Regions from separate parts of the Homo sapiens genome. Here region 2 is linked to region 1. Evidence: promoter capture Hi-C in 16 types of primary human blood cells and fetal thymus (Javierre and others, 2016). All regions are on one chromosome and are shown on one strand. Each heading gives the region's core, a stretch centred on a gene start or on the middle of the fragment in contact. The rest is flanking DNA. Distances are from core to core; before and after follow the strand shown. Region 1 holds the start of LYPD4 (LY6/PLAUR domain containing 4). Region 2 overlaps CXCL17 (C-X-C motif chemokine ligand 17).

What was found. The method cuts DNA at HindIII sites, captures the fragments that hold promoters and counts their contacts. A CHiCAGO score of 5 or more calls a contact.
Region 2: a fragment that was not itself captured here is called in contact with the fragment with the promoter of LYPD4 in region 1 in 1 of 17 cell types (total B cells); the score reaches 5.9 in total B cells.

What each region holds. Positions count from the first base shown.
Region 1 is chr19:41,843,274-41,846,022 of GRCh38, reverse strand. It overlaps LYPD4 (LY6/PLAUR domain containing 4), which reads left to right and starts at 1,340. Exons shown (of 5, transcript NM_173506.7): 1 at 1,340-2,445. It overlaps DMRTC2 (DMRT like family C2), which reads right to left and starts at 981. Exons shown (of 9, transcript NM_001040283.3): 1 at 922-981. The HindIII fragment of the contact is 15,469 bases long and covers 1-2,749 here.
Region 2 is chr19:42,434,380-42,437,128 of GRCh38, reverse strand. All of the region lies in intron 1 of CXCL17 (C-X-C motif chemokine ligand 17), which reads left to right. The region is part of intron 1 of LIPE-AS1 (LIPE antisense RNA 1); the gene reads right to left. Among named protein-coding and RNA genes, the nearest start is that of CXCL17, 7.2 kb to the left of the region's middle. The HindIII fragment of the contact is 3,149 bases long and covers 1-2,749 here.

The sequences.
Region 1 (2,749 bases), core at 91-2,590:
TTTTTTTTTTATTGACAGGGTCTCGCTCTGTTGCCCAGGCTGGAGCGCAGTGGCGTGATCATGGCTCACTGCAGCCTCCACCTCCTGAGCTCAAGCAATCCTCCTGCCGCAGCCTCCCCAGTAGCTGGGACTACAGGCTGGAGCCACTATGCTTGGCTCCCCTGTCCCACTTTCTTTCTTTCTTTTTTTTTGTTTTGAGATGGAGTCTCACTCTGTAGCCCAGGCTGTAGTGCAGTAGTGCAATCCCGGCTCACTGCAACCTCCGCCTCCTGGGTTCAAGCAATTCTCCTGCCTCAGCCTCCCGAGTACCTGGGATTACAGGCCTGTGCCACCACGCCCGTCTAATTTTTGTATTTTTAGTAGAGATGGGGTTTCACCATGTTGGCCAGGCTGGTCTTGAACTCCTGACCTGCCTCAAGCGACCTGCCTGCTTCGGCCTCCCAAAGTGTTGGGATTACAGGCATGAGCCACCGCACCCGCCACCTGCCCCACTTTCAAGTTATTTTCCTTCACTCCTTCATTCATTCCACAAATGGTTACTGAGCCCCTGTCATGTGCTAGGCCCTGATCTGGGCCAAAAACCTTCTCCTTGGGGCACTAATGTCTCTCTTGCGCTCACACCTTATTCAGGTTTTTGTGTAAACATGTGAAGTCACTGTGTCCAGCGCTTCCTGCTCCTGTGGCCACTACCAACAATTAATTTCATGCATGTCCCCCTCCCCCCTTCCCGTGCCCCAGGGAGCGAGTGGGGAACCGGGAACGCGCCAAGGGGCCCGCGAGGCAGGGAAGGGGAGAGGGGGCGCGAGGGCGGGAGGGGCGCGAGGGGGAGGAGAGGGGATGCCTGGGTTAGGGAGTCCGGCTAAGAGGGAGGAGGACGGAAAGGCAGGAGGGACCGTGTTCGTGCAGCTAGTTCACGGTTACCACAGCCTCCAATGGAGTCAGATTCAGTCAAGAAGACGCCCAAAGACACTGTGAGAAAGTGGCCAGAGGAACCGCCAAGCTCGCGCTGCTTTTCTTACCCTGTCTCACAAAGACCAATGAACTTCAAGCATCGCCTCTCTCAGCCGAGGCAGACGACCAATGCGGTTTGAGATCCTGAACTGATGTCCCGCCCCTTCCCTTCTGCCAGCTTCTTGGCGCACAAGACTATCAGTCCCACCAATAGCGCTTCGAGTTGAGCCTCGCGCCACCGCTGCCTCTCCCTCCGCACGTCCTGCCCGCCCAGACTGTCTTCCCCCTTTCGAGGCAGGTGGCCAATGGGGCGTCGAGTACCCCTTATTGGACCGAGGCTGGCCCCGCCCCCCAGGAACGGCCCGCCTGGCCCCGCCCCTGGGGCGTTGACCAAGCCCGGTCTGTGCACGGGTTGCCTCGTTTCTGGCCTTCCCTTGCCTTGTACCTCGACTTCGCGCGTGGCTTGTTTTTGCTGAGTGGAGGCCTGCGTTTTCTGTTATGTCTCTTCCGGTGCCCCACAACTCCTGAGCTACCCTTCTTTTATGCGTTCTCTCCCAGCGCTGTGATTACCGGGTTGCTTACCGGGCCCTCCTTCCTCAGATTGCACCCCTTTCCTTGTGTCTCTTCTTGTCTTTGTGTCGGTTGTGATTTTCCTAATCTCTGATTTTCCTTTTCTCTCGGACGCTCTCCCTCTTCGGACCCATTTTCTCCCGTGCTTCATGCCCTGATAGCCTGGCCCCTTCCCGGCTTCCTTCGCTACCGGGGACGCCTCTAGTTTTTCTGAATTTCTGGCTGGCTCCACCCTCCGCGTTCATCTTCCTCAAGAGTTCGCCCCTCTGGGGGCTCCTCTGTGTAATCGTCGCCTTCTCTGGGTATTTCTGTGAACTCCGTCTCACACCATCCCGCCATCTTCTCTGCCTTGGCCCCTTTTCTCTGTACAGCCAGCTCTGTGTCCTTTTCTTCTCCCCCTCTAAAATCGACTCCTCTTCTCCCTGAGAGCCCCACCTTTGTGCCCCACTCCTCATTTTCCTACGCCTCCCTCTCTCTGCTGGTCCTCTCTCTCCCTGCAAGGTTCCATTCCATCAATTTGTTTGTCTTTTGTAGGGGTGGCATCCCCTCTGACTACTGCTCCATCCTTTTTTTTTTTTTTTTTTTTTTTTTTTTTGCTTGAGGATTTCACTTCAATCTTTTCTGGTTGCGTCTCCACTTGTACTCAGCTTGTTAGGTCCAGGTCCAGTTGTTCTGCATCTGAGGCTGGCGTGTGCTGTCTTCTCTGATTGGCCTAATCTCCCTCACCCCCGTGAGATCTGTTGTCAGCCTTCGTTTCTCTTTCCTGTGTCCCAGCTTTTCTGCGGGTCTTGGCACCTTTCTTGGCCACAGATTTCTGGGTTACAGAGCATGTGTGTCTGAGGCATTGCAGGCAGAAAAGGGTGGCCGACGTGACCTCTAGCTGGACTGCTGGGCAGGGGAGCTGTCCTAGATAAAATTGGAAAGGTTGGGTGGCGCTTATCTGGGGTGGGGTGGGGTGTGGTCGGGGGAGGCTTAAAGGCCAGCTAAAGAGGTTGAACTTGATCCTTTAGGTAGTGGAGAGAGAGTGAGAGGAAGTGTGTGTGGGAGGGAGGGATAGTGGTAGAGGAACAGGGTAACCAACGATTATAAAGAGCTTAGCATTTGCCTAATACTTATGGTAATAATTTTATTGATCTTCACAATGACCCTATGAGATGTATTATACTTCATTTTATAAAGAAGGTAGTAGGCTCTGAGTTCAACAAATTGGACAGCTAGTAAATGAAGG
Region 2 (2,749 bases), core at 73-2,572, 590 kb before region 1:
CTGCCTCTACTAAAAATACAAAAATTAGCCAGGCATGGTGGTGGGTGCCTGTAATCCCAGCTACTTGGGAGGCTGAGGAAGGAGAATTGCTTGAACCCGAGAGGCAGAGGTTGCAGTGAGCCGAGATCACAACACTGCACTCCAGCCTGGGCGACAGAGTGAGACTCCGTCTCAAAAAAAATAAATAAATAATTAAATGAAAAAAAATTTAAACATTAGTATAGCTCTTCTGAAAGCAATTCTTAACTTTTGACCCAGTAATTCCACTTTGGGAACTCTCTCTCAAGAAAATAATCTAAAATTTGGAAAACAGTTACAAGAACAAAGAAATTTACCAACATCTAAAAAATAAAACTTTCTAAATATTCAGCAATGGGAAAGCAGTTAAATAATTTGGAACACATAATTATTGAGAGTATTATGCATTCATTAAAAATGTGTTATGAAGATGACACAGCAACATGCCTATGAATGGAAAAAGAGAATGTGTTTACATGCTATGGTTATCACTATATTAATAAAAAGCATATGTAGGTAACAAATATGCCAAAATACCAACAGTTGGTAAGAATAATAATTTCTCTGTTTGTACTTTCAAAATTTTCTCCAACAGTTAAATTACATTTAGACTGAAAAAAAAAAAAACTTCAGAATTAAGGAATTCAATTAAATAATCTCTGGGATTTCCTTCAAGGTCTAATATTCTGTGGTTTTTCTCTGGAACTAGGAGTAGAGGTCAGGCAAGAGTAAAAATGTTAGAAAAGTTTAAATGGCAGGACCTATGCCTGCTTAAATTACTTTGATAACACTCAAAACAGCACATGAGAACATTGGAAAAGCAGCCCTTGGGGAAATGACGCAACCCCCTCCATCTGTGTGGCAGAAGTCTGGGAAGTAGGAGGCCTGAATTGAACCATATGATCTCTAAGGGTCCTCTCCAAACAACTTATCCATCCACGTGTTGAACAAACATTTGCCAAATGCCTACCATGTGTTAGGAACCACGTACCTGAATGACTACTGAACCAATGGTTCAGAGTCTAGTGAAGGAGAAATATTTTATTTTAGTTTGCTAGGAATGCCATAACACAATACCACAGACTGGGTGGCATAAACAAGAGAAATTTATTCCTCACAGTTCTGCAGGCTGGATATATGAAATCAGGGTGCCAGCACAGCTGGGTTCTGGCAAGGGTCCTCTTCCAGGTTGCAGACAGTGGACTTCTCCTCTTATCTTCAAGAGGTGGAAAGAGAATGAAAGAGCTCTCTAGGATCCCCCCTACTTTTTTTTTTTTTTTTTAGACAAAGTCTTGCTTTGTTGCCCATGCTGGAGTGCAATGGTATGATCTCAGCTCACTGCAACCTTTGCCTCCCGGGTTCAAGCAATTCTCCTGCCTCAGCCTTCCAAGTAGCTGGGACTACAGGCACGCGCCACCATGCCCTGCTCATTTTTGTATTTTTAGTAAAGACAGGGTTTCACTATGTTGGCCAGGCTGGTCTCAAACTCCTGACCTGTGATTCACCCACCTCGGCCTCCCAAATTGCTGAGATTATAGGCATGAGCCACCGCGCCCAGCCCAAATCTCCTTTTCTTATAAGGACACCAGGCAGACTGGTGTAGGGCCCACCATAACAGCCTGATTTTAATCACCTCTTTAAAGGTCCTATCTCCATATACAGTCATTCTGAGGTACTGGGGGTTATGGATTCAACATGTGAATTTCGGGAGACACAATTCAGTCCATAAAAGATTTCAAACAACAACATTACAGTGCAATAACAGAACTGCATTCAACAACAATGGGAACCATATGAAGGTATAATTCATGTTGACAGGAAATATCAGAAACTACCATAAAGGAAGTGTCATCTGAGCCAAGCTCTTACTTGAGAATCTCAAGTCTATAAACCATCATTCTTGATTGTCTTAGGAATTTTTTTTTTTTTTTTGAGACCGTGTCTCGCTCTGTCGCCCAGGATGGAGTACAATGGTACGATCTCAGCTCACTGCAACTTCCGCCTCCTGGGGTCAAGAGATTCTCCTGCCTCAGCCTCCCGAGTAGCTGGGACTACAGGCGCCCGCCACCACGCCCGCCTAATTTTTTGTATTTTTAGTAGAGACGGGGTTTCACCATGTTAGCCAGGATGGTCTTGACCTCCTGACCTCATGATCCGCCTGCCTCAGCCTCCCAAAGTGCTGGGATTCCAGGCATGAGCCACCGTGCCCAGCCTGTCATAGGAATATTTTAAGTATCAAAAAATGGAGATAAGATAGAATCGGAAAATAAAACAGGCTCGGATAAAGGCCAAAAGAAGAATGTATTTGTTCCAGAGGAACAAAGGTAAATACCATCGTTTAATAGTTGAACTGGGACTCTGGATTCAAATACAGCTACTTGGGGTGGGTGTGGTGGCTCATGCCTATAATCACAGCACTTTGGGAGGCCAAGACAGGCGGATCGCTTACGCCCATGAGCTCCAGACCAACCTGGGCAACTTGGCAAAACCCTATCTTTACAAAAAATACAAAAAACTAGCCAGGAGTGGTGGTGCATGCCTGAAGCCTCAGCTACCCAGGAGGCTGAGATGGGAGGACCAACCAAACCCAGGAGGTCAAGGCTGCAGTGAGCCGTGATTGCACCACTACACTCCAGCCTGGATGACAGAGTGAGACTCTGTCTCAAAAAACAAACAAACAAACAAAAAACCCAGCAACTTGGAGGTCAAGGGAAAATCTTGATTTAAGGAA